Regions from separate parts of the Homo sapiens genome. Here regions 1, 2, 3, 4, 5 and 7 are each linked to region 6. The links are contacts of gene promoters, found by promoter capture Hi-C in blood cells and fetal thymus (Javierre and others, 2016). All regions are on one chromosome and are shown on one strand. The core of a region is centred on a gene start or on the middle of the fragment in contact, and the rest is flanking DNA. Distances in the headings are between cores, read along the strand shown.

Region 1 (3,885 bases), core at 470-2,969, 500 kb before region 6:
AGTCCCCATCACTACAAAAAATTTAAAAATTAGTCGGGCATGGTGGTGCTTGCCTGTATTCCTAGCTATTTGGGAGGTTAAAGTGGGAGGATCCCTTGAGCCCAGGAGGTTGAGGCTGCAGTGAGCCGTAATTGTGCCACTGCACTCCAGCCTGGGCAACAGCAAGACCCTGTCTCAAAAAAAAAAAAAGGAAGAAGAAATGAAAAATAGCTGATGCCACATGGTGTTCTTAGATGCTCACCCTGTACTCTTCAGGACTGATGCCTTCTCAGTAAATCGTATTGTTCCCCTAAGTGAGATCACAAGAAAGACAGTCCTCTGCTCTACCTTCTCAACCTTGAGACTTTGTAAGTGACACCATTAAAGCAGTCTGAGCAGGGCTTTTCAAACAGTGTTCTGTAATGTGCTACTGAAAGAGGAAGCAAAGCTCTCCACCTAGATTGGAGCATCTCGACTGCTGTCAGGTTAATGTAGTGTTGGGATTTCTTCTGCTTAAGATATCCTTTGAAAAATGAGTCCTGCAGCTTTAACCAAAAAGAAAAAAAAAAGATTTTAAAAAAAAAAGTATTCTCAGCGAGGCATGGTGGCTCACGCCTGTAATCCCAGCACTTTGGGAGGCCAAAGCGGGTAGATCACCTGAGGTCAGGAGTTTGAGACCAGCCTGGCCAACATGGTGAAACCCCATCTCAACTAAAAATGCAACAATTAGCTGGGCATGATGGCAGATGCCTGTAATCCCAGCTACTCAGGAGGCTAAGGCAGGAAAATCACTTGAACCCAGGAGGTGGAGGTTGCAGTGAGCCGAGATTGCATCATTGCACTCCAGCCTGGGTGACAAAGCGAGACTCCACCTCCAAAGGAAAAAAAAAGTATTCTGGTATTTACTGACACCTGGATATTGGGACAAGTTACTTTGGTCTTGAGGAAACTAAAGGTGACATGTAGAGTGAGGGATGGGGAAAAATAGCAATTGTTATTTCAAAGACAATAGATTTTGAAAAATTATGCTCCTGTAAGACATTTGTTATCTCTAAAGTTTTCCAGCATAAGCCAAAGTGTTTTTTTTCAGAATTTGGTCAGTGTAGCCCAGAGGTCCAGTCTAGATGGTGTTTGGTGTAAGACTTATGGTTTCACTGGAATTCCTTCACACCAATCCTTGAAGGTCTGCCCCATTTGTGCTAGGCTGAGGCTATCTGGTTATGTGAAGCCCATAGCTAGGGGCCTGGAGGTCCCTATGTTAAAATTTGACTCACGGGACAAATAAGAACTGCCTCCTGCCTCCTTTTCTTACCTGTGTTTTGTAACGAGTTATTTTTAAGTTGCATCCAGACATCCAGCCTCTATGTATACTTCTCCCTGGTCCTCTACATTCTTTCTTTTCTTTGTGACCTCTGTTAAGTTTGTTAAAGGGATGGGAAGGGGTGCTCATTTGTTGAGCACTTTCTATGTGCCAGGCATTATGTTAGGTGCTTTGAATATACTATTTAATACTCAAAACAGCCTTATGAGATAGGTACTCTCATCCCTAATTTTAGGTGAGCAAATTATAAACATGAGAGAGGCTAAGTAACTTTTCTCTAACTCATATTTCTCTGTTAATAATAAAAGACGTGTGAATTAGTGATGATTTTCTCTCAGACTCAAACCCAGTTTTCTTTCCACCTTTCCTCTACACTTTGTAGTATTAGTTCCCCTTTTGTTGCTCTTCCAGGGAAAGGTGATCTATGGATAGCCTAACTACGGATTGTTGTGAGATCCTGAATGCTAACCATGGTGTTACTGACTTTCCCTAGGGTCCTATCCTTCCCCCAAAGCTGGAGCAACTCTGGTCGTGTACAAGGACTTGCTAGTGCTGTTTGGTGGCTGGACGCGGCCAAGCCCTTATCCCCTACACCAGCCAGAGAGATTCTTTGATGAAATACACACTTACTCACCCTCTAAAAATTGGTAAGTCACAAAGATAAACTCTTTAAATCTGGAAGAAAAGGCCTTAAATCAGTGGATTCTTTGTTTTTTTGTGTCAAGAGTCCCTTTGAGAATTAGATGGAAAGCTGTGGACTCTTTTCCCAGGAGGGGAAAAATGCACATATTCACAGATTTTACCAACAGTTTCAGAGAGTTTACAGGACTCTCTTAGAACCCTGCATTTAGAATCCTTATTCTAAAGAGAAAAAATAGAAGAGATTTATTCCTCTTTCAAGAAAAATGAATGAGCCAGTTGAAGAACAGCGAGCTCTTCAGCTTTGGCTGCTAACACTCCAGGAGTGTTGTAGATCCAGATGATTCCTTACTCCTAACTGTGTCTCCAAGACTTACTCTGAATTGTTTTTCAAACATATATCTCTTAATGACAGCAACCGCCGTTTCTTGTAATGGAAGACTTAGTACGTGGCGCTTGTTAGCTGTTACTGATCAGGACCATAGGGAAAGGTAGCAGGTGGCAGGTGGTGCTTTGTCAGCAAACCAGGCCAAAGAAGCCATGATCTTGTCTCTTGTCATCGTTTTCTCATCTCTCTCCCTCCAGACCGTTTACATTCAGAACTTGAAAGAAGATAACTTTAAGCAAACTTGTAGGAAAGGCATAAATACATTATGCCATCCTCTACTTATTATCCCAACAAATCTCTGCTGAAAGTGATAGGATTATCATTTTAAATGGATGCCTACTTACTATTTTTACATAAAGTGTGTGGTGCTGACTTCTTGACTTCCTCCTGTCTTTTTACATTAGGTGGAACTGCATTGTGACAACCCATGGGCCACCTCCCATGGCTGGCCACTCCTCCTGTGTGATAGATGATAAAATGATTGTCTTTGGTGGCTCTTTAGGATCCCGGCAAATGTAAGTACATTTGGTTTGCTCCATATGAGCCTGAAGGTAAATACTCCTGGGAATAACAGGTTTAAAAGTGAATTAGGGACCAGGTGCCTAATTCACACCTGTAATCCCAGCATTTTGGGAGGCCAAGGTGGGTGGATCACCTGAGGTCAGGAGTTTGTGACCAGCATGGCGAACATGGCGAAGCCCCATCTCTACTAAAAATACAAAAATTAGCCGGGCATGGTGGCACACACCTGTAGTCCCAGTTACTTGGGAGACTAAGGCAGGAGAATCGCTTGAACCTGGGAAGTGGCGATTGCAGTGAGCCAAGATCACCCCATTGCATTCCAGCCTGGGCAACAGATCGAGACTCTTAAGGAAAAAAAAAAAAAAAGTAAGTTAGGGTCAGTATTCCTGAGCATGGCTCTAATTAATCCAATTAGTTATCTCATCCTAGCATTCTGTTCTTTAATCCCTTAATCACAGACCAATAAATTGAAAAATTTGCTCTATAAAATCATAGTTATATAGAATCTCTTTGACATATGGTTCTATTCAGTAGGATCAAATTCTGATGGAACCTCCACCTTGCCTGCTGTGCTGTGCCTGCAGAAGGCCAACTTTCGAGAACAGAATGCTTTTACTTATTCTACTTTATTACCCAGCTCTTGCCCTTTTGGGCTTTAGAGGAGAAGAGGGGGAGATTGACAGGACAAGTGGAAATGGTGGGCCCTCCAAATGTGATAGGTTGGTTGAGCCACATGTAAAGGGCATGAAAAGAAAGAAAGAAGGAAAGAAAAGAAAAAAACAAATGGGATGGGTTGTGGAATGGGTAGGAACAGGAAAACTGTGTCAGGCATGACATTTCTGTGAGGTCATTGTCCCTACCTCCTGTCCTGTCCACTTCTGGCCATACTGGACAGCTCAAGCCATAGTCAGGAGCCAGAGCATTCCATCTGTATCACTGTCTGATTCAGCGGTAGCAGCAGTTGTGGTCATTCCCCCTGTGCTCTGAAGTGGAAGTTGATGAGCTGTCAGCAGCAAGACCATCCCACACCTGTCCT
Region 2 (4,172 bases), core at 832-3,331, 440 kb after region 6:
GAGGCCAAGGTGGGCAGATCACAAGGTTAAGAGATGGAGACCATCCTGGCCAACATGGTGAAACACTGTCTCTACTAAAAATACAAGTTTAGCTGGGCATGGTGGTGTACACCTGTAGTCCCAGCTACTCAGGAGGCTGAGGCAGGACAATTGCTTGAACCCAGGAGGTGGAGGTTGCAGTGAGCTGAGATCGCACCACTGCACTCCAGCCTGGCAATAGAGCAAGACTCTGTCTCAAAAAACAAACAAACAACAACAAAACAAACCCATCAACTCAAAAGAAGGAAAGAATGGGGAGAAAAAGGAACATAGGTAGTACACCTGGCCCTGAGCAAGTAGATAAATTTAAATCCCAATATGCCAGCAATTATATTAAATATACTTGGACTGAAAGACAAAGATGGTCAAACTGTATAAAACCTATGTGCTGTTCACATGAGATACACATTGTAAAATAAAGATTGACATAAAAAGTATGAAAAAGATAGTCTATGAAAACTCAAATCAAAAGAAAGCTAGTGTATCTGATGGAGCTACCTTAATGACAAAGACTTTAAAGGAAAAACATCTCTAGCAATGAAGAGGAACATCTTGTGATAGCCAAAGATTTGATTCGATAGGAAGTAATGAAATGGTAAATACATATGCATCTACTAACACAGCTTCAAAATATATAAAGCAAAGATTGACAATATTAAAAAAAGAAACAGACAAATCCACAATCATGTTAGGATCTTCAAACAATATGCCTCTCTCAGTGGCTGACAAAACACACAGACAAAAAAAATCAACAAGAGCATTTAAGTTTTGAGCATTATCGGCAAGCTTCATTTAATGTCCATATACAGAATACTAAACCCAATGACTGCAGGATGCGTATTCTTCTCAAGTGTGCACGTGGAACTGCAGTCGGCCACATGCAGGCCATAAAACAAGTCTCAATTAATATCAAAAGATTGAAGTTACACAGAAAATGTTCTCTGACCACAGTGTAATTAAGCTAAAAATCAGTAACAAAAAAGGTAAGCAGAAAACCCTCATATATTTAGAAATTAGGAAATAAGCTGCATAGTAACCCATGGGTGAAAGAAGAAATCACAAAGGGATTTGGAAAATATTTTGATCTGAATAATAACGAAAATACTACGTACTAAGACTTGTGGAATGCAGCCAAAGCCTTGTTTAGAGAAAAATTGATAGCCCAGAGAGCATTTTGACTCCATGTTCATGACTACAACTATTTAAAAGAAAAATATACCATAGCAAGTTCATTTTCATTGAGAGGGTATTTTCTAGAGCAAAGTTCATTAAGCCAGTTGTTTAACAGATTTCCAAATGTTTCCATTTTCACTTTAGTCTCCTGAAATTATTTTGATCTGGATCAGTTCTTTTGTAGGCAAATTATACAATTATGATTTGATTCATCCATAAGTTTTTCTGGACCCTATCAAATATTTACCAATCACAGGTCTGTCTGTCTGTGTTTTATTTTGTAGTTTTCATTTCTACCATGTCCATTTTCCCCATATTATATTTTACAAGTCTAAACTTTTTCAAGAATATTTGATTTTTTTAAGTGATTATTTTAATTTTTTGTAGACAGGGCCTCACTGTGTTGGCCAGGCTGGTCCTGAACTCCTGGTCTAAAGCAATCCTCCTGTCTCGGCCTCCAAAGTGCTGGGATTACAGGCGTGAGCTACTGCACCTGGACAAGAATATTTGATTTTTCTCTTAAGTTTTAATTGATAAATAAATTTTACTTTGTATAGTCTTAACTGTTGATTTTAATTTTGTGTTAATTATTTCTGCCAAGTCTACTTATGTCTGGCCAACTTTTGCAGGCTTCAATACTATCCATAAGATGTGATCCTTGTGTAGTATACATTTCAGCTCACGAGGTTTTAATGATTTGACTTCTGCTGACTATACTCACATTCATATTAAATAAAATTGGAGAAAAATAGATTATTTGCTTTTATTTCTCAGATCATCCCTGAGAACCTCCCTTCACATAGAATTCCTCTGCCTTTTAGATTTGTTCTTAAAATATTCTCAGTTGTGGTTGGGCGTGGTGTCTCACACCTGTAATCCCAGCACTTTGGGAGGCTGAGGCAGGAGGACTGCTTGAGGCCAGCAGTTCAAGACCAGCCTGGGCAACATAGTGAAGCTCTGTCTTTATTTATTAAAAAAAAAAAATTCTTAGTTTTCTCAATGACAACCATCTTCTAATCAAATAAACTAGATGATTCAAATGGAAAGAAAGAGATTCTGTCCACACTGCTCAGGACTCTCGAAGATATTTTCAGTTAAAAAAATTAAAATAAATGTGTGATCCATAAGCATCTTTTATACAACTCTTCAATTGGTTATGTTGCTAAAAGAGGTCACCATTAATTTAAAACAATAGGACTTGCTGTGCTGATGGAAATTTCCATATCTGTGCTGTCCAGTGCAGCAGCCACCAGCTACACGTGGCTACTATGCACTTGGAACGTGGCTGGCAACTGAGGAGCAACGTTTTGTTTTATTTATTTTTAATTAAATTTTTTTTTTTTTGAGACGGAGTCTTGCTCTGTCGCCCAGGCTGGAGTGCGGTGGCACGATCTCAGCTTGCTGCAACCTCCACCTCCCAGGTTCAAGTGATTCTCCTGCCTCAGCCTCCTGAGTGGCTGGAATTACAGGCCTCCGCCACCACATCTGGCTAATTTTTGTATTTTTAGTAGAGACGGGGTTTCACCACATTGGCCAGGCTGGTCTCGAACTCCTGACCTCAGGTGATCCATCTGCCTCAGCCTCCCAAAATGCTGGGATTACAGGCGTGAGCTACCGGCTTTAATTTAAATGTAAATAGCCATGCGCGGTTAGTGGCTACTGTTATGGATAGCGCAGGTCTGGAGTATGCAATACAATTTTTTTTCCCATGATGGGAAGGGACATTAAAATAATTAAGCAACACGAAACTCAAAACTGGGATTGGGAGGCCAGAGGTGGGTCTCATTACCAAAAAGCAAGAAACAGTTTTAGAAGGCAGTGAGGAGTAGTGGGGTTACTCACAGGGGCCTTGGAGTCAGACCAACCTGGGTTCAAGTCCTGCCACAACTACTTTATGCAGTGAACCTGGTCCCTGTCCCTGTGTGAGCCTCAGTTTTCTCAGCTGTAAGAAGGGTTAATACCAGCATAGTCCACTTAGAGGACTAACAGGGATGATGAGTGGGGAGCTACCGCCCACACCACTCTCTGGGCCTGTTGTCCACTACGTACCTTGCTTTTTTCTCTCAGAGTCCTAGAGATCACGCTTTGTTCAGTACAACTCTTCCTCAGCTCTGCCCTAAGCTTCTTCATTTCTTTCTCCATGTCTTGGATTTGCTGAAAAAGTTTCAACAAGAGTGAACCTCCCTGATGGGGGCAGGAGCTGCCTTCTTGGCTGAGAGGTCTGAGCCCTCATCATCCCCTGGCATCCCATCCATTAAGGTGGAAACCTTGTCTGGTATCAGCTTATTTAATTCCTTCTCCTGGAGGAAGGTTTTACATCTCTCAGCAAAATAGACTTTATTTTTCGACTGATATATTAAAAGTTCTGGATAAAGGAAATTAGTTTCTTTTGGAAGTCAGTACAGCTCCTGGATTAAGGACTACAGGACACCCATCAACTCACTTGAAACCCTGCTCTTGGGTTATATTTTTGAGTTCAATCTAAAGGGCCAACTGTTTGGAAGACTCAACAGGCAAGGTCTGGAAGAACGGAACAATGAAATGTTTTTTCTTTTTTGTTTGAGGCAGAGAGTAAAATGTTCCTGGCCTGGAGGAACGGTGCTGGCGTGGGGAAGAGCAAGTTGGAGAAGCTGAACTTCCCGAGTGGAAAACGCACACCTGGTGATGTGCAGGGTGGATTCGGAGGGCGTCAGGAATACACCTCCTTTGACTTTTAATGGTCTTATTTTCATTGTATTTATTTTTATGGTTACCTTCTACATAAGGCAAATAACTTTTTCTTTTTTTGAGACAGAGTCTCGCTCTGTTGCCCAGGCTGGAGTGCAATGGCACGATCTCGGCTCGCTGCAACCTCTGCCTCCCGGGTTTGAGCAATTCTCCTGCCTCAGCCTCCCAAGCAAGCAACTGGGATTACAGGCACCCGCCACCATGCCCAGCTAATTTTTTTGTATTTCAGTAGA
Region 3 (3,586 bases), core at 246-2,745, 280 kb before region 6:
TGGGGGACAGGGAGTATGGAGGGGGCTGGCAGCTACAGCTTTCACCTGCATCCCCGCAGAGTCCATAGCTTAGAGAGCACCAGGATCTAGCAGACTCCTGCGTGTCCCAGGACCTGTGGCGCCAGGTATCCTCTGGGTCCCCAGCAATGCTCCTGGCCCACTGGCTGCTAGCCCAGCCTGGGAGCTGGCCCTCACTGGCTGTGGGCACCAGCCCCTGGGGTTGCAGTCAGCCTCCTTCTGTGGTCCCTACTTGCTCTGCCCCGTAGCTGAGGGGACAGTCAGGTCTCAAAGTGAACAAAGCACATGGGGCTCCAAGGAAAGGTGCCAAGTGTAGGCTGCCCCAGCCCCTTGCTGTGGCCCCAGCTGTCCCAGCAGCTAACCCCCACGTCCCCTCATTGGCACAGGTAGGTGAGGGAGAGGCCTGGGTGGAAGATGGGCACAGTGACCAGGCCTTGGGCTGTATCTCCCGAAAGGCAGAGGGCAGATGCCCGGCCCATCTGACCCACAGACAGCTGGACAGACAGACCCCTTCCCTCCCTGCCACCCAGGAGACTTTGGGCAGTCATGTCCTGGACAAATGCCAGGAGGAGGGTGGTTCCTGGGCAGGGAGGTGGGGTGGGAGCTGGGCAGGAATGATGTCCTGAGTGGTCCTCCAGGGGGAAGGGAAGAGGACCTGGCTCTCACCTCGGATGCCTCGGCGGATGCGGGGACAGGGGCCCCACAGCTCCTGCAGAGTCACAGGGTTCCCTGAGGAGCCTTCACGCAGCCCCACAAACTCCTCCATCAGGCCCCTGGAGAAGCGGATAGAGGGAGGGACCGCGGTGAGCTGCTGCACGTCCTCGCACTGCCTCTAGGCCCTTCCAGTGCTCTCCCCACCCATGAAGAGGAAAGATTGTGCGTGTGTGTGTGTGTGTGTGTGTATGTGAAGTTATCACACTAGGTCTGTGTGTGCCTTCATCCCTGAGTTTCCGTCACTGAGGGTGTGTGCCTGTGTGTGTCATTGTGTGGGATGGGGGTGGGATTCCTAGGTGTCCCCCTGTGTCCAGCAGCAGACTGGGCACAGGCCGGAGCCCAAGCCCTGCTCAGAGCCCCTTCCCCTTCGGTGGCAGCCGCTCCCACCCTCCTGGGTCACTTGGCGCTTCCACTGCTGGGAGCAGTCTCTGCCCAGGGCTGTGACACTCTCACTGCAGAGTCCCATGGATGGCTCTGACTCTCCCTGTCCACCTATGAGCACCCCTGACCCCAGCTCAGGCCACAGAGGCAGCAAAACCCCAGGCCCAGAAGAAGATCCCACCAGGGCCAAAGTGAGGTGCTGGCTCCTGCCCTTACCACCCCCCCCCCCCCGCCCTGCCTGTCTGGCCCTGGCAGGCCCCAGCATCTTGCAGCGACCCCTCACCTGTCAGTCCTCCTGCTGTGGCTGAGCTGGCCCTCCTCTCACAGAGCCTCCAGCTCCCCTGCACCTGGACAGGTGTGTGTTCCAACAATCAACATCCTCCCCCCTTTCCCGCCTGGGCCCAGGGTTTATGGCGAACACTTAGAATGTCCTTGAAAACCGATCAGAACTGCCCAGGCCGGAGCAGAGCAGAGCAGAGCTGCCAACAGGGAGGGGAACAGGAGCCTCCCCACCCACCATAGCTGCACAGAGGGTGGTGCCCAGCTGTACTCAGGCTCCTGGGTGCTGCTGGACGGGGGCTGGGAAGGGGGAGCTCACGCACACAGCAGGACAGAGAGGGGTCATCTGCCAAGGCTGAGGCTCAGGGTCCAGGGGTCTCAGAGCTGGACATGGAAGGTTTGGAAAAGCACAGAGGGAGAGGGGAGGAGGCTGGGCAGAGAAGGAGAAAGCAGGCCGGCAAAGGTGAGTGGGGCCAGCATGACCACAGCCTCCCTGTGTGCCAGGTAGAGAGTCAGCCTTCCCCTAGATTAATTACCCTGAGTGCCCACGGAAATCCCACGAGGCAGGCAGCGTGATCCCGTTGTAGAGAAATGGTGTCTCAGGGAGGTGGGGCTGCCCGTCTAAGATCACGGAGGCCGAGGCAGCGCCAGGATTCCCAGCCCAGGTTTGCCTGGCTCCAAAGCCCGCAGGCTGTGCCACACGGTCCCATCCTGATGACCCATCTTGTCCAGGGCTGGCGAGGAGGCCGACACCTGGGGCAAGGCAGTGAATTGGGGTCAGGAACTCAGACTTGATCCTGTGTCCAGACCCTCCAGGCTCAGGAAATGCCTCTCAAAGCACACGTCCAAGGGCCAGCGGCTCTGGTGGGGACTTCTGGGTAATTCCACAGAGTTTGTCCCACCCCAACAGAGGATGGCAGCACAGGTGTGAGGGGACATGGCGAGGAACAAGCACGTGCCGTGTGCCTGCAACGTGTCAGAAGCGTCACATCCGCAGCTCAAGTCCTCCTCCCCACACCCTGTGAATGGGGAGAGCCTCGCCATTTTGTAGATGGTCAGAGAGGTGAGTCACTCATCCAAGGTCACACAGCAGAGGCTGAACCCAGCCCCACACTGTGCAGCTCTTCCCCTGCCCAAAGCTCCTCCAGCTCCTGAGGCTGAACCAGGGCAATGGTTTGGGCACAGAACAGAAGAGTTGTGTCTGATGCCACTTTGGGGCAAGATGTTGGGGGCAATTGCCTCCAGTCCTACCCAGACAAAGCCACTCTCTGAATAACATGATGGCCCTTGGATGATTGTTAAAATCTGGGACCCTGGGCCACCCTTTGCCCCTAGATGCCAGGCAAGTCAAATCAAAATTGAAGGTGTGTGTTGTGGGAGGTGGGATGGGGGTTGCCGCTCTGCATGAACCCGAGCCCACCTTCATCTTGGCCACCCTGACCTGTTGACTCTGCACAGCACCAGAACTGGCTGCCCTGTCAACATCCGGATCCCCAGTGTCTGGTCTGGGGCAGCTGCTGGCTACTGTCCCACAGCCGGCACTGCATGTCCACATCCACCCTCACCCCCCAGCCCTGTGTGCCCCAGGAGGCTGAGAAGAGGGCAGCCAGGGGGCGCAGGACCCAATGCAGGTCCCTCCCAAACCCACTGCCTCCACATCAGCCCTAATTTCTCCCCTTCCATATTAGTCGCCTGGCAGCAGTAGCGGGGGCTCAGTAGAGAGACAGCAGGGGAGAACCCAGGGCGGCTCTGTGACCCTAACACCATCACCATCCGGAGCCTCTGTTTTCCTCCTCTGTCAAATGAGCTGAGCCTGAGACCTGGGTCTCTGTCTCATGACAGTGGGGGTCGGGTGCCCAGGACCTGCACAGCCCCCTCGCCTCAGAGCAGCTGAGGACGGGATGGGGGACAGGGCACGCTGAAAGAGACAGGGCAGGTATGGGTGGGAGCGGGGCGGTACAGAGAACCCACATTCAGAGGTCACTGAGTCCCCACACTACTTTGCATCCTGGCAGGTGACATGAAGCAGGGTCCCCTGCCCTGCTTTTATTCCAATGGTTACACCCCCACTGCCAGGTGCCTAGGAGGGGAGGGAGGCTCTGGTTATTCCTGGCTTCCCAGAGGAACTGTGGGGACAGCTGGGGAGCTAGCAGACCCCCCATCTCCCACCCCTTCCCAAGACAGAGGCCTTACC
Region 4 (3,564 bases), core at 593-3,092, 260 kb before region 6:
GACATCCAGGGGCAGTGACTCAGGCCCTCAGCACCATGACAGTGTGTCTGCATTTAGCCACCGGCTCCTGTTTCCCTGGCGAGCGGCAGGCTCTGGGCCCCCCACCCCGCCCCACCCTCTCTCCATCTCACCTCAGTGCTGGTGGCTTCCCAGCTGCCCTAGAAACCCCTCAGCCAGGCTGGGTGTCACAGGCCCCGACACGGGCAGGAAACTCTGCCAGAGGCAACAGGCCCTGTTGCTCCAGGCAACAGCCTGGCCCGCCGCTGTGCCCTGTGCCCTGCTCTGCTTCCACTCCACATACCACCAGCACCGCTAATACCCCTGTAGAAGGAGCTCTCCAGGATGAAGCTCCAGACTGGGTTGTAGGGGGCTCAGACAAAAGAGAAACTGCCCGTCTTCAAGAACCTTCAATCTAATGGGGAGACAGGTGAACCCTCGCCCCCGTGGGAACTGCCAGTTGGATAGGGAAGAAGGGACACAGCAGAGAGTCACAGCACACAGGAAGACTATGTCACACTGCCAGGTGCTGTGGGAGGACAAAGACAGTCAGTGCTGGGGGCATCTGGACTGGGTGTGGGCCCATGTGAGCAGGAGCAGTCAGAGAGGCCTCCCTGGGGGAGGAGGCATTGGAGCTGATCTGGGACGGAAGGGACGGATTTGGAGAGGACAGCAGAGGCCCTTAACTGCAACCTGGGCAGAGCAGAGGGCCTGGCCGCCTCTCAGAATGGCCTCCACCCTGGCCCAGGGCAAGGTCAGTCCCAGCTTTGCTGAGCAAGCAGGTGGGTAGGGAGGGGCTTCTCTGGCTCTTCCGGGCCAGCCTGTCTCCATAGGCACATGTTCAAACCACCTCGGCCTCTGAAGGGCTTTGGGTCCAACACATCTAGGTTCGAATCCCAGCTCTGCCACTTACGCAACTGCGAGCCCCGCCCTTTCCAAGAGGCTTCGCTTCCCCGTCCGTAACATGGGAAGAGCCCCTCCACCCTCCCAGCTGTGTGGGGATCAAACGGGGCCGTGCTGGACAGCTTGCAGCCAGGAGCCCATGCCCAGAAGGCATTCTAGAACTCAGGGCTAGAATAATTGTCTTCCGGAATTCTCTTTTACCTCTGACTGAAATCCCACCTAAGGCGCTCGCAGGCATCACCTCTGACACAGAGATGGAGCAGACAGTTGCCGGGAACACAACCTTCTAGACCTTTAAGGAGAAAGCTGCCAACTTTGTCCTCTTGGGGCTGCTGAATGTTCTGAGAGTCAGAGGGAGTGCAGGCACAGAATCCAGGTCCCCATGGGGGCTGGCAGGGGACAGCTGCACATTTTACACCCCCTGGCAGGGCTCAACCTTTCCTTAGAGATGGGCTGTGAAGGTTGTCTGCCTTGAGGGAAGGAGCTCCTGACGTCACAGAGCGGTGGTGCTTCCACCTACCCTGTCCCCAAGGAGCCTGCACACTGATGGAGGAGGTACAGCCGTGGAGGAGAACCAGAGTCTGGAGGGGAGGCACAGTCCTCAGGAGCCCCCAGGCTGACGGGGGAAACAAAACACACAATAAACCCCAAACTTGCAAGGTTCTGGGGCAGGCACCGAGGTCCGAGTGGCAAGGAGACAGGATCCAGCCCTGTGCAGTGGTGAGGAGGCCCCTGGGGCTGCTGTGATCAGCCTGGAATGTCAGGCTGTGAGCTCAGCCCTCTCGGCCTGCGTGTCGGGCTGTCAGCAGGGCCGGCGCACGGGAGAAGATTTCCAGCCCCCTCTGGGCCATGGAGAGGCCTAAATTTAGCTAGTAGACAAGGGGCTGGCCCCAAGCCCAGGGACAGTCGGCCTTATAAAGCGGCCGCAGTCGGAGCCTGGCACGCTCGCCCAGAGGCCTGCGCCCACACCCTCTCCTGTCCAGCCCTCGCCCGCCTGGGCAGGGCCCGGCGCCGTCCGTGGATGAGCCACAGAACCTCTTCCACCTTCCGAGCGGAGAGAAGTTTCCATTCCTCTTCCTCTTCCTCCTCCTCTTCCACCTCCTCCTCGGCCTCCCGTGCTCTCCCGGCCCAGGACCCGCCCATGGAGAAGGCCCTGAGCATGTTTTCCGATGACTTTGGCAGCTTCATGCGGCCCCACTCGGAGCCCCTGGCCTTCCCAGGCAAGTGATCCGGGCCCTGAGGGGAGGGGAGGTGCACAGGGAGGGGACGTCTGCTCCAGGGCGCCACCGAAGGCGCTGTGGCTGCCGGTCGGCCTGGAACAGGTGCTGCACAGCCTGCAGCCATGTGTGGCCACCAAGACAGATGTGGCCACAGGGACAGATGTGGCCATGAAAACAGGTGGGCCTCTAAGGAACAGTTGTGGCCCTGGGGGTTGGACATGGTTCCATGGCCACCCATGCTCTGTAACCACAGCCAATCCCAGCTGGAGCCCTGGAGGGCTGGATGGGTGAGCGGTGGGGGGCAGCCCCCAGGCTCCAGGCCTGGGGTGGGGTTGTTACAGACCTAGCCTCATATACACACACACTGTGCTGGGTGAGGCCCCACCCCCACCCCAGAAAAGGTGGGCTGTAGGAATGAGGAGGAGCTTAGGGAGAAACAGCTAGGGGGGAGGTAGGGCCTGGGGGAGCCGCCCCTTGCCCCAAGAGAAGGAGCCAGAACCCCCGGATCTGCATGCAAGGCCTGCTCCATGCCTCGCTCACAGCAGCCCATCCCACAGCCCGCCCCGGTGGGGCAGGCAACATCAAGACCCTAGGAGACGCCTATGAGTTTGCGGTGGACGTGAGAGACTTCTCACCTGAAGACATCATTGTCACCACCTCCAACAACCACATCGAGGTGCGGGCTGAGAAGGTGAGCCCCCCACCCCCTACTCACCGCATCCCAAATTCTGCTCCTGCCTCCAATGTCTCCTACTCCCCCTTACCATCCTGGGACCCCAGACCCTGGCCAGTGTCCCTTCCCCACCCAAACTCCCCCAGGGCTAACTGAAGGCCTTGTCCCTGCAACCCATGGCCATGGGGCCCCCTCACTGCCTCTCTTTGCACCGAGGTTCCCAGATCCTTTCTTCCAGGGCCTGAGCAGCTGAGGGAGCCTCCGAGGAATGGGAGAGGGATGGAGGGATGTGGGCAGAGGGAGCCTGAGGGGGTGGGGCTTGAGGGTGGGAGATGACAGGTGTGAGATGGTGATGGCAGAGTGAGGACAGCTCCTCTGGTAGCTATAGGGGGGCGGATGCGGGTAGGTGGGGAACTCACCTGGGCAGTGGGGGGAGGGGTTTCTCCATGTGACCCACCTCAAGCCCTCTTCCCTCCCACAGCTGGAGACCCATCCCCCATCTTGGGACCCCTAAATTAGGCCCGAGGCTGGGCAGGGGCCCTGCAGTTTCGGGTCACACACACTCCAAACCACACACAGCGCCCGCCCACAGGTCTCAGGGTCACTGGGTCTCTAGCGTGTCTGAGTCCGAACTTCTAGGAGGCACTGGGGCCTCCACCCTGGAGAGGGTATGGCCAGGCCTGAACAGGGGCGTTGCCCAGGGACAGCCACGGCTGCCAGGAGAGAGGAGAGGACCTGACCCAAGCCTCCTCCTAAGCCCCCAAGGACTGG
Region 5 (3,967 bases), core at 272-2,771, 440 kb before region 6:
AAAGGTCAAAAGTGTGCTTGGGGCTCAGGGACTGGTCTCCATCACCTCCAGCCTCCACCAGCAAGCCAGCGGGGAAGGAGCTCTTGGTTCCTTGTGGGGACTAGCAGTGCCCTATCCAGAAGCAGGACCCTGTGAGAACGCTGGCAGGGCAGGCAACCCCTTCTCCCCACTTCCAGTCAGAACCCACCTGATCCCGAGGGTGGGTGCCTAGAGCCAGGGCCCAGGCCAGGCTGACCTCCCCTCCCCCGGTCCTCCAGGCTAGGGAAGTTTGCCGTTTTCGTCCATGCCAAGATGGCTGAGCTGCAGGTGCGGGACCTGAGCCTGAAGCTGCAGGGCATCCCCGGCCACGTGTTCCTCCTCCAGCTCCTCCACGGGCAGCACATGAAGCACCAGTTCCTGCTGCGGGCCCGGACGGAGTGAGTGGGCCTGGATATGGGAGAGAGGAGGCTCCCCCTCCCCATGACAGGCACCCCGTCCCCATGATGGGCACCCCGTCCCCATGGCGGGCACCCCTGGGACATCCTGGCCTTGTTCCTCCCCAAGTGCTCAACTCTTCCCTGACTTGGGCAGGACACAGGGGCAGAGGGCAGGGCTGGAGGCCAGAGTAGGGGTGCCTGCCCCACAGGTGGTGTCAGGGGGCTGCCACCTCCTCCTCAGCCTCTGGGCATCTCTTGGATGTAAACCTCCACACCCTGCTATCTCTGGCTTCAGGACTGTGGCATTAGGCAGGATGGGGGTAGGGCTGGCATCCAGGGGGTTCTGGGCCTGTTATGCTCAGAGCTGGGTGGGGCACAGGCTTGGGAACCGGGTTGTGGGGTGGGCCCTGGGGTGGGGCAGACATGGGTCCCTAGGGTAGGCCTGGGTCCTAGGCCTGGACATCATGTCTGGCTCCCCCAGCCTTGGTTTCAGCACCCTGCCCTGGGCAACTGCACTTTGCATATTGTGACAACTTAGCCTCCCCCTTCCCTAGAAGTGAGAAGCAGCGATGGATCTCAGCCTTGTGCCCCTCCAGCCCCCAGGAGGACAAGGAGGTCATCAGTGAGGGGGAAGGTAGTAGCTCATCCCTGCTGCTTACATCCCTGGGCTGGACCCTCGCCCGCTCTCCTCCCCTCCCATCCTGGGTGCTGTGTTGCTGGCAGGGCTATGGGGAGAGAGACCAACTTCTGGGGCAGTCAGGGGTAGCTCTGAGGAACCTTGAAGGCTGGGCAGAACTTACATAGCACAGGTGGACTCTGTGTCCACAGGCAGCATCCTGGAGATCATAAAGCCTTCGTAGCCTCCCATTTCACCCCTGTTTTACAAGTTAGAAGAGAGGTTCAGAGATAAATGGACTTGTGTAAGTTCACCCAGCCAGTAAGTAGCAGAGCCGAGACCAGAGCCCAGGTCTGTCTCCATCTTTGCGTCAGTTGCAAACAAGACAAGAAGCAGCCAGAGCCAGGGTATGAGGGGTGGTGGGGGTAGTGGTGGCAGGTGAGGCATCTGCTCAGCTGGAATAAAGGTTTTTCCTTTGGGTGTGAAGTGAGGCTGGTAAGCCAGGGTGCGACCTAATCATAGAGAGCCTTCCTATAGTGTCCCTAGGGAGCTATTGAAGGTTTGTTTGGGGTTTTTTTGAGACAGGGTCTTGCTGTATTGCCCAGGCTGGAGTGCAGTGGCATGATCATGGATCACTGTAGTCTCAACCTCCTGGGCTCAAGTGATCCTCCTGCCTTAGCCTTTTGAGTAGTTGGGACCACAGATATGCACTACCACACCTGGATACCACACCTCTATTTTTATTTTTTGTAGAGATAGGGTATTGCTATGTTGCCCAGCCTGGCCTCAAACTCCTGGACTCAAGCAATCCTTTCCCTTCAGCCTCCCAAAGTGCTGGGATTATAGGCATGAGCCATTGTGCCTGGCTTATTGGAGGCCTTTATTTATTTATTTTTTTGGAGACACAGTTTTACTCTGTACCCCAGGCTGGAGTGCAGTGGCACAATCTCTGCTCATTGCAACCTCCACCTCCTGGGTTCAAGTGATTCTTATGCCTTAGCCTTGCGAGTAGCTGGGATTACAGGCACTTGCCACCACGCCTGGCTTTTTTTTTTTGAGACAGAGTCTCACCCTGCCATCCAGGCTGGAGTGCAATGGCACAATCTTGGCTCACTGCAACCTCCACCTCCCAGGTTCAAACAATTCTCCTGCCTCAGCCTCCCAAGTAGCTGGGATTATAGGCGCCTGCCACCATGCCCAGCTAATTTTTGTATTTTTGGTAGAGGCAGGGTTTTGCCATGTTGACCATGGCTGGTCTCGAACTCCTGGCCTCAAGTGATTCACCTGCCTCAGCCTCCCAAAGTGCTGGGATTACAGGTGTGAGCCACTGCACCCAGCCTTAATGGAGGCTTTTGAGCAGAGGAGTTAGGGCTGAGCTTTAGGTAGTAAAGGGAAAGAAAGGGCACTCATGCCCACTGAGCGCCTGCCATAGGCCAGGCCCAGGGCTAGGGGCCTTGTATTTGCATTAAATCTAATTTAATCCTCATGGCAACCCTACTAGGTAGACATTTTTCATATCTGAGAAAACTCAGGCTTAGAAGGTGAAGTAAATTGGTCACACAGCCAGTAAGCGGCAGAACTGGGATTCAAGCGAGGTCTGGCCCCTCAGTCTGTGGCTTTGGATGCTACCAGCCCACCTGGTCTAATGAAAAGAGCTGAGGACCAGGAAGGGGGTAGATGCTCTGGCTTGAGCTAGGAGTCCCACCTGGGTGGGGGTAAGCTCTCTATTCCCAGGTGGTCAGGGGAGGTCCCTGGCAATTAACATCTGACCCCTGAAGGATGAGGAGAGGTTGTCACGAAAAGATCTGGGGAAGAGCATCTGGCAGAAGGAAGAGCCAGCACAAAGGCCCTGGGGCAGGAGGGAGCTTAGAGTGAGGAACAGCAGGGAGGCTGGTGTGGCTGGAGCTTTGTGAGCGAGTAGGGAGGGAAAGTGGAGGGGAAAGTAGGGAGGGAAAGTGGAGGGGAGAGTAGGGAGGGAAAGTGGAGGGGAGAAGACGAGGATAGCAGGGGGCGATGCCAGACCATGAAGGGCCTTGTAGGGCCTAGGGAGGACTTTGGATTTTATTCTAAGAGGACTGGGAAGCCCTGGAGGGCTTTAAACGGGAGCGATGCAGCTTGAATCCCAGTTGGGAAGGATGGGCCAAAGGGAGCACCAGAGTGATGTTAGGGGCACATTGCAGGGCCGTTACTGTTTTCTGTGGGGTATCTGGGGGCAGTTGGACGTTGGGGTCTGAAGGTCACAAGCAAGGTGTTGGCTTGAGCTGGGGAGGGGACAGCCCTTGGTATAGAGGCAGAAACTGAAGCTGGGAGGGACTGGATTAATCCTGCACTTGTGTTTAGGGTAGGAGAGGAGATAGGCCAGGGTGGGCAGAGGGTATGCCTGCTTGAACGTGGGCCTGTGGCATGGCAGTGGCAGAGGAATAGAAGCCTCAATGGCCACCTTCCCACCCCCTTACTTCCTCCTACTGCCCCTCCCTGCCCTACCCATGCTCCTCCCCCTGCCATCCTGCCCTTGGGACTCCCTGAGCCTCCCTTGGGCTGTCAGATTGCCCCCAGGTTCAGTGTGTTAGGACATACAAGGCACTGCACCCAGATGAGCTGACCTTGGAGAAGACTGACATCCTGTCAGTGAGGACCTGGACCAGTGACGGTGAGGGGGCCTCCTGGGAAAGTGTCCCTGATGGGGCTTGGGTGGGCAGGAGGTGGCTAGATGACTAAGATATCACAGGGAAAGGTTCTGCAAGTGTTGATCTGCCACAGCATGTGGGAATCAGGTTAGATGAGAGGAGGAACTTCCTGCTTGTAAAGATATAGGATGGAGAGTGATGGGGGAGAGTGGGAAATACCCTTTCAGAGGATATCAGGAAAAACAGGTCAGAAGTTCATCTGCAAGACAGCTCAAGACAGGGTCCTTCCTGGAGCTGAGAGATGCTGA
Region 6 (3,953 bases), core at 140-2,639:
TGGTGCGATCTCGGCTCACTGCAACCTCCGCCTCCTGGGTTCAAGCGATTCTCGTGCCTCAGCCGCCGAATAGCTGGGATTACAGGCGCGCGCCACCACACCCGGCTAATTTTTGTATTTTTAGTAGAGACGGGGTTTCACCACGTTGGCCAGGCTGGTCTCCAACTCCTGACTTCAGGTAATCCGCCCGCCTCGGCCTCCCAAAGTGCTGGGATTACAGGCGTGAGCCACCGCTCCCGGCCAGCTTTGTTCTTTAATGACCGGATAAAGCAGTCTACCTTTGGGTACGGAATTAAATTTAGGCAGAAGTGGCGGGGTGTGCCCCAACCCCTCCCACCCTGCAACTTAGGGGAGGGGTTCCCTCAACCTCTTTCCCACCCCAGGGAAACAGAGGAGGTAGAGAGCTGGGTTCACACGCGGCCCCACTTCTTTCCTGCGGGGTGACCCCGAATAGGTCACAGAAACTCTCTGGCCTCGTTTTTTCATAAAGTGAGAATGAGTGTGTCCCTAGGGCGGCTGAGAGGATATATAAGGAAAGAAGACTCAGGGTCTAGGCCCTTGGAAGGTGCAAAGAGAAGGACAGCTGGTTAGGCAGCAGCTGAGAGGGAGAAGCAGCCCGGGGGCTGGGCTCGGCTGGGGGTGCCTCCAGGACCCGGACAGAACCTACAGCGTCATTAAGAGCAGGAATCTGGGCGCGGCCCCAGCCTCTCCCCGGGGTCCTCAGGCTTGGGTGGGAGGTGAGGGGTAGGGGCCGACGCCAAGATCATCCCAGGGCACACACCTGGGTATCGCCCATCTCCACACCTTCTCAGCCCCCGACGGGCGCGTGAGGCCCAGAGAGGAGCAGCCCCGGGACCCGTCCCTCCCCTTGCCTGACCCTGGCTAGGAAAAGGGGCCTGGAGCGCCCCCGGGCTCCGGAAACGCGGGACCCTCCGCAGGCAGCCGAGCAGGGCGGCCGCCGGGGTCACCGCTGGGCGCCGCCGGAGCTTTAATTCGATCCATGTGCGGGACTCCGGCCTTTTGTGCGGGAGCTTCCGCCCTGCGCGCCGGGTCCCCGGCTCCCGCTCCCGGGCTGGGACTCGGCCCTCCGCCGGCCTCACTGAGCCCTCGCCCCGGACCTGCCGACTCCCCGACTCCGGGGAGAGAGACCAAGAGACTGGGACGCAAAGGGCGTGAGGACCGCACCCCCCACCCGCAGGCCCCTCCAGGGGCGCCGCGCCGGGGGTCCCGGCTGGCGACCGAGCAGGCTCCGGCCGAGCACTGCCGGCGCTGTCACCTGTGTGCACCGGGGACAGGGACGGAGGGACGCGACCCCCACCCACCCGGCCCGCTTACCTGGGCCGCCCGCGCCCCGGCGGCTCCGATCCGACGCCCGAGCCAGCGGAGCCCGGAGCCGCTGGGCCTCCCGTCCCCTCCGCCCGTCCGCCCTCCCCGCCCCCTCGGCTCCCTCCGCCCCGCCGCCCCGCGCCGCTTTACCATAAAAGGTGAGGCTCGGGGGGAGGGGGCGCGGGATTCCCGCCCCGCGGAAGCGGCCCCTACCTGCCCCCCAACCTGCCCGGCCGCGCCCCGCGCCGCCCCTTCCCCCTCCCTTTGTTCCCTGGACGACGCCTCCCCTCCCCCTTGGCACAGGCCAGGGGGTGGGAATGGGGGGGAATGGGGATGGGGGCGATGGGGGAATGGGAGGGATGGGGAGTGGGGGTAGGAGAATGGGGAGTCGGGGTGGGTTTCCTTCCCTCCCCGCTGCCCATCCCCTCGCGTTCTTCATGGACCCCGAGTGGTCCCTGCCGTCCCCCTTCCCTCGCTCTCCTGGGTTGGCAACCCCACCTACCCTGTCCGGCGGAGGTGAGCGCTTACTTTGGCTCTGGGATCCGCCAGGGTCTTGCGTCAAACCGACCAGGGTTCTGCGGCCGTTTACTAAGCGTGAGACCCGGAGCAGTCACGCCACCTCCTGAGCCTCAGTGTCTTCATCTGTAAAGTGGAGGTAGCCACTGCCTACCTCTCCAGGTTGGCCTGAGGATAAAAGGTGACAGTTACAGCCAGGACTGTGATTAATAGTGGTTAATATATGCTGGGTTGGGGGCTTTTTCCGGGAGTGTTCCTGAGGGTGGGGGTCTCGGAGACCCCCAGTGGAGCAGGTCACCTTGTTCTGCTCTCCTGAGCGGTAAGCCCTCTGCAGGTGGGTCCCGGTGTCCCGGGGGACAGGCCGCTCCAGGAGCTCTGGAAGGCAGGGCCCGGCTGGCCCTGTGGCTGAACCCCTCCCTCCACATCCAGTGACCCTCCCCCTCCCAGCTGGAGCAATTAGGACGGGAGCGGGAGGGGAGGCAGAGCCTGGACTCTGGGGCCCGGGATGGGGCCGGGATGGACTGCCTGGGTCCCTGGAGGCCTCAGGGACATTGTGGGGAAAGGAATCTGGGTCTGATTCAGAGGCAGACAGATTGTTCTTTTGATTAAAGCCACAGTGGCTGAGGCTTGAGGAGCGCTGGACCCAGCGCCATCTGCGGGGTGGCCAGACAGGATCTGGCCCGTCCTGCAACCCCTCAGCTACAGTCACCCCTCCAGGGTGGCTCTGGGGCTGTTTCTGAGGGAGGCTGGTTTATGAGGGTCAGAGGAGGCTGCCTCCGCCCTCACCCACTGATCATCGCCCCTCCCATCCCTCTTGTCGCCCCTTTTCCCATTTGATCCTCTCAGCCAAGCTGCAGTAACAGCAGCAGTCCCAGGAGCTGCCATTGATAGGGGCTTTCTAGGTGCTGGTACCCATCCTCATCCCCATCCTAATCCCACAAGAGCCATGAGCACCAGGGCTGATGATTCCTGTTCACGGTCAAGGACACTGAGGCCCCGAGAGGCTCAAGGCCACACTAGGGGCAAATGGCAGAGCCAAATTCAAACCAGAGCCGCTGTGTCCCTGGGCACACAGCTCTGCTAGTCTCAAGAACAGGTACCAGTGCCATCCTTTACAGAATCGGAAGCTGGGGCTTGGAGGTGCTGAGAGTTCTGTGCAGCAGGGCGAGGCTGGGACTCAAGGCTGTCTGAGTCCCTGCTCGGCTCATTCCTGGCTTGGCAGTGATATCCTGCCCCTGCCCCCCAAAACTCCAGCTTTGCAGCACCCTTTGGAGGAGACTTCCCCATACCCTCTGAACGACAGAGACGGGAAGGACTCAAAGGAGGAAGGTGCGATCTGGGGGTTTTCAGGCGCTTTTGGCTGTAGAACCCCTTTGCAAATGCTTAGTGACCCAGAAGTTTATTTAAGAGATAAAAGTGGAGCTGCCTGCCCTCACCTCCATGACAGCCCCTGAACCACCTGTTGCACCCCCAGGTGGGATAGTGAGGCAACGAAGAGTTGATTTGGGGCCTTGTTCAAGGTCACACTGACTTAGTCTAGGACCCAGGCTTCCCACATTTGCTCTGGGACAGTCCAAGGGGAATGAGGGGTTCAACTGCCTCTGCTTACCTGCCTCCAGCACCCCAGGCCACCTGTTCCACCGCCACCACTGCTCCCGGATGGAGGGATTCGTCCTGGCCCGCAGCAGCTCGGGTGTCGATGTCACCGATCGGCAGGTGCCAAACTTCCTGCAACGGAAACCCAGGAAGTGCGCTGGATGAGAACACACGCCCTTTGTCTGCCAGCTCAGAGGCTCTGCTGCCCTCCGCCCTCCCTGCCAGGCTCACAACGGCTTTCTTCTCCCTTAGATGGCTCCAGCAGGCAAGGGGCTCAATCTTCTATTAGGATGGTGGCAGCTGAGACCCTGAGTGGCAGGGAAGGGGTGGAAGAGAGGTTTGAGGGCAAGTCTGCTTGCCGGGGCGGGGGTGGCACCTCCACAGTGGAGAGCTTTGACTGAGCAGACACTGACCGGGCACCTACTGTGTGCAATGCATGAGTCAAGGAGCCGACGGGATCAAATCAGACATGATCAGTCCTTGTCCCCACAGTCCTTACAGGGAGATTGGGTAGA
Region 7 (3,720 bases), core at 284-2,783, 300 kb after region 6:
TCAGATTGCTTTGTGAACGTCTCAAAGTTACTGCTCTGCTTTAAAGAAACGGGTTTGTAGATAAGATATGGGGCATGGCTTATATGAAAAAGACAGTTAAGAACTCAAAAAATTGTTTACATAGTCTAAGATAAAATCTTTACTATATATATATGATTTAAAATAATTTCTTTATAACCAACTTTTCAATTACTCGGTCCCAATTACATCAGATAAATGAGATTTCACTATATTTGTTTATGTCAATGTAAACTTTACACATTTCTCTTAAAATCCCCACCATTAACACGTCTGAGTAATTTACACCTGTGCCCCACTTGGCAGTTTAGTCTTGATACCACTATGATTATATCAACTTAAGAAAACATTTTTTTCATTGGTAACATTGATTTGCCTGTGGTTAAAGATTAATCTGCGCAAATAGCACTGATTGGTTCCTTAAAGCAAGGAATGTTTGCATAGGTAGTCTTGAATGGTTCCTAGACTGATGGTACATTTGTAAACAAGCCTCTGATTGGTTAATAGAGTAATACTATATTTGCTGCCTATGGGCAGTGGGGAGGGGACAGCTCCTTACTGCAGCTGGAGGAGGCACCTCTCCCTCCACTCCCAAGGTTGGCCAAGGCCACAGAAATGTATCTTTTTTTTTTTTTTTGAGACAGAGTCTTGCTTTGTTGCCCAGGCTGGAGTACAGTGGTGCAATTTCAGCTCACTGCAACCTCTGCCTCCTGGGTTCAAGCGATCCTCCTGCCTAAGCCTCCCCAGTTGCTGGGATTACAGGCGTGTGCCACCACACCTGGCTACTTGTGTATTATTAGTAGAGGCAGGTTTCACCATGTTGGCCAGGCTGGTCTCAAACTCCTGACTTCAGGTGATCTGCCCACCACAGCCTCCCACAGTGCTGGGATAACAGGCATGAGCCACTGCGCCCAGCCGGAAATATATCTTATTGCTAAAGTTGCCTGTGCTGCTCTCTGAGTCCCATCAATACTCACTTTGCCAGCACAATAGACGCCATGGTGGAAGGGCAAAGGGGAGATGTAAAGGGAGTGGGGCAGGGACGGGGAGAAGTACAGTGTGGTCAACTCACCTGCCAGGGCCAGCTGTTGGGCCTCGCTTCTTCACCGCCAACCACCCTAGTCACATAAGGTGGGTAAGTGGGGTCCCCACAACTGAGGGCTGTGAAAAGAGAAAGGGTCTTGAGTCAGGAAGCAGCGACCCACACAATGTAAACTACACTTGCTGCGCATTCTGACCCCCCAAATAGAAAACCCTTGTTCTAGAAGGATCCCAAGAGGTCATAGAATCCTGCTCTTTGCTCCAATTCTTTGAAACTCCATTCCAATGTTCTTATGATTATAGGTCTGAATGCAGTAGGGGTTGGGTGGGGGCGAGAGGGGAGGACAGGAAGATCCCATTTCCAGCCCCACCAGGGCATGGGAAACCAGTGCCTCTGGGTAACAGGACTTACCTCCAGCCACCAAAGTGGACAGCAGCAGCGTCCTTATCATGGTGTGTCCGTGGGAGTTCTGTAAGCGTGGCCCTGGATAAGGCCCTGGTTTTATGAGCGGACTTATCAGTGAGAGATACAGTAAGAGCACGCAAGATGGGGTTTTCTCAAAGCCCAGTGGAAAAAAGAGCTGTGTCCAAATATTTTTTTTTTCCCATTTCCTCCCAAATGTCACCCTAGAAATACTTTGAAAAAGATGCCAAAGGTAGATATTGGAATATGGGTTCCATCTGTTTTGAAGAGATTATGTTGTGTGTTAGGGAAGGAAGAAAAATACTAATTGTTGGTGCTCGGAGTTGTTTTTTTTTTTGTTTGTTTGTTTTTGTTCCCCTCCCTGGGTAAGACTGAGGAGAGGAGTTGTGTTTTCTTTCTTTCTTTCTTTCTTTTTTCTTTCTGAGATGGAGTCTTGCTCTGTCACCCAGGCTGGAATGAAGTGGCGTGATCTCAGCTCACTGCAACCTCTGCCTCCTGGGTTCAAGCAATTCCCCTGCTTCAGCCTCCCTAGTAGTTGGGATTACAGGTGTGTGCCACCATTGCTGGCTAATTTTTGTATTTTTAGTAGAGACGGGGGGTCTCATCATGTTGGCCAGGCTGGTGTCGAACTCCTGGCCTCAAGTGATCTGCTCGCCTCGGCCTCCCAAAGTGCTAGGATTACAGGCTGAGCCACCATGCCCGGCCAGGAGTTGTGTTTTCAATGAAAAGATTAAGGTGGCATGCTGAGCCCACAGCATTCTAAGGCAGTATTTCTCAATGGGGCTGGTTCAGCCCACCAGGAGACGTTTGACAACATCTGGAGAGAATTTTGGTTGTCATGGCTGGGGTTGATGTAAATTGGCATCCAGTGGGCAGGGAGCAGAGAGCAGAGACGCTGCTAAACACCCGACAATGCACTGGGCAATAGGACTCGCCCTGCCCCAAATGTCAATGGTGCTGAGACTGAGAAAGCCTGTTCTAGGCCATACCAGGGGTTGCAATGTGACCTTGGCTGAGTCATGTAAGTCTCTAGACCCATCTGTGAAACAGGGAGAGAAACCCATGCCCAGTATTGTTTCACAACATTGTGGTAAGGATTTGTATAATGTGGGGAAGGTGCACATGTAGCAGAATTTGCATAATGCGGGGAAGGTGCACATGTAGCAGAAGGCAAGGCCGACATGCACAATTAGGATCTGGCCACTCTAATGATGGGGGGAAGCAGAACGCTGGCAGAGGAGGGCTTCATCTGGTGGATGAAAATGCACTTTACGGCCGGGCACGGTGGCTCACTCCTATAATCCCAGAACTTTGGGAGGCTGATGCGGGCAGACCACCTGAGGCCAGGAGTTCAAGACCAGCCTGGCCAACATGGTGAAACCCCGTCTCTACTAAAAATACAAAAATTAGTAGCGTGTGGGGCTGCATGCCTGTAGTCCCAGCTACTCAGGAGGCTGAGGCAGGATAACCTCTCGAACCTTGGAGGTGGAGGTTGCAGTGAGCTGAGATCGCACCACTGCACTTTAGTTTGGGCAACAGAGCAAGACTCCATCTCAAAAAAAAAAAAAAAAAAGACCAGCTCCACACTCTTAAGACTTGATATCAAGTGTTTTTTTTTTTTTTTTTTTTTTTTTTTTTTTTTTTTTTTTGAGACGGAGTCTCGCTCTGTCACTCAGGCTAGGGCGTAGTGGCGCGATCTCGGCTCACTGCTACCTCTGCTTCTCAAGTTCAAGTGATTCTTCTGCCTCAGCCTCCCTAGTAGCTGGGACTACAGGCACCGGCCACCACACCCGACTTATTTTTGTATTTTTAGTAGAGACGGGGTTTCACCATATTGGCCAGGCTGGTCTTGAACTCCTCACCTCGTGTTCGTCCGCCTCGGCCTCCCAAAGTGCTGGGATTACAGGCATGAACCACCGCGCCCAGCCGAGTTCAAGTCTTTGATCCATCAATTTTGAGTGTGGTGGTCTGGACAAGCCACTTATCTTCTGGGCCTTACTTTCCTAGATAACCATCCAGGCCTGGATTGCAGGATTGTTGTACGGGTAAGAAAATGGGTGGGAAAGAATTCTGCAATCTCCCTAGGATGGTGCAAAGGTGAGAAAGATTGGGTGGGGGGCAGCATCCCATGGGACTGGATGTCAGAAGATGTAGATTCCAGTCCCAACTCCATCCCATAATCCCTGTAACAGTTTGGACTCATTTGTGGTCTGTATGAGTCACTACAGCAACCAACT

What was found. Contacts are between HindIII fragments. The CHiCAGO score rates a contact against its expected background, and 5 or more counts as called.
Region 1: a contact is called between a fragment that was not itself captured here and the fragment with the promoter of FBLIM1 in region 6, in 1 of 17 cell types (activated CD4 T cells). The highest score is 6.6, in activated CD4 T cells.
Region 2: a fragment that was not itself captured here is called in contact with the fragment with the promoter of FBLIM1 in region 6 in 1 of 17 cell types (neutrophils); the score reaches 6.1 in neutrophils.
Region 3: a contact is called between the fragment with the promoter of CLCNKB here and the fragment with the promoter of FBLIM1 in region 6, in 17 of 17 cell types (M0 macrophages, neutrophils, activated CD4 T cells and 14 more). The highest score is 20.8, in M0 macrophages.
Region 4: a contact is called between the fragment with the promoter of HSPB7 here and the fragment with the promoter of FBLIM1 in region 6, in 10 of 17 cell types (erythroblasts, megakaryocytes, M2 macrophages and 7 more). The highest score is 7.7, in erythroblasts.
Region 5: a contact is called between a fragment that was not itself captured here and the fragment with the promoter of FBLIM1 in region 6, in 1 of 17 cell types (activated CD4 T cells). The highest score is 5.3, in activated CD4 T cells.
Region 7: a contact is called between the fragment with the promoter of CELA2A here and the fragment with the promoter of FBLIM1 in region 6, in 1 of 17 cell types (naive B cells). The highest score is 5.0, in naive B cells.

The regions. Positions count from the first base shown.
Region 1 is chr1:16,254,668-16,258,552 of GRCh38, reverse strand. It overlaps FBXO42 (F-box protein 42), which reads left to right. Exons shown (of 10, transcript NM_018994.3): 5 at 1,794-1,947; 6 at 2,732-2,842. Among named protein-coding and RNA genes, the nearest start is that of CPLANE2, 19 kb to the right of the region's middle. The HindIII fragment of the contact is 4,911 bases long and covers 1-3,885 here.
Region 2 is chr1:15,317,018-15,321,189 of GRCh38, reverse strand. It overlaps FHAD1 (forkhead associated phosphopeptide binding domain 1), which reads right to left. Exons shown (of 34, transcript NM_001391957.1): 10 at 3,262-3,366. LOC124903852 (a long non-coding RNA gene) reads left to right here. Exons shown (of 2, transcript XR_007065481.1): 2 at 3,781-4,172. Among named protein-coding and RNA genes, the nearest start is that of FHAD1-AS1, 25 kb to the left of the region's middle. The HindIII fragment of the contact is 2,508 bases long and covers 828-3,335 here.
Region 3 is chr1:16,041,691-16,045,276 of GRCh38, reverse strand. It overlaps CLCNKB (chloride voltage-gated channel Kb), which reads right to left and starts at 1,495. Exons shown (of 20, transcript NM_000085.5): 1 at 1,397-1,495; 2 at 685-791. The coding sequence starts at 784. The HindIII fragment of the contact is 13,884 bases long and covers 1-3,586 here.
Region 4 is chr1:16,016,321-16,019,884 of GRCh38, reverse strand. It overlaps HSPB7 (heat shock protein family B (small) member 7), which reads left to right and starts at 1,842. Exons shown (of 3, transcript NM_014424.5): 1 at 1,842-2,120; 2 at 2,678-2,811. The coding sequence starts at 1,922. RefSeq lists enhancers at 1,549-2,293, 2,294-3,040. The HindIII fragment of the contact is 15,911 bases long and covers 1-3,564 here.
Region 5 is chr1:16,198,865-16,202,831 of GRCh38, reverse strand. It overlaps ARHGEF19 (Rho guanine nucleotide exchange factor 19), which reads left to right. Exons shown (of 16, transcript NM_153213.5): 13 at 258-416; 14 at 971-1,050; 15 at 3,578-3,682. Among named protein-coding and RNA genes, the nearest start is that of ARHGEF19, 12 kb to the left of the region's middle. The HindIII fragment of the contact is 4,968 bases long and covers 1-3,967 here.
Region 6 is chr1:15,756,231-15,760,183 of GRCh38, reverse strand. It overlaps FBLIM1 (filamin binding LIM protein 1), which reads right to left and starts at 1,389. Exons shown (of 9, transcript NM_017556.4): 1 at 1,336-1,389. RefSeq lists an enhancer at 3,257-3,953. The HindIII fragment of the contact is 4,964 bases long and covers 1-3,953 here.
Region 7 is chr1:15,454,545-15,458,264 of GRCh38, reverse strand. CELA2A (chymotrypsin like elastase 2A) reads right to left here and starts at 1,533. Exons shown (of 8, transcript NM_033440.3): 1 at 1,472-1,533; 2 at 1,091-1,179. The coding sequence starts at 1,511. The HindIII fragment of the contact is 8,750 bases long and covers 1-3,720 here.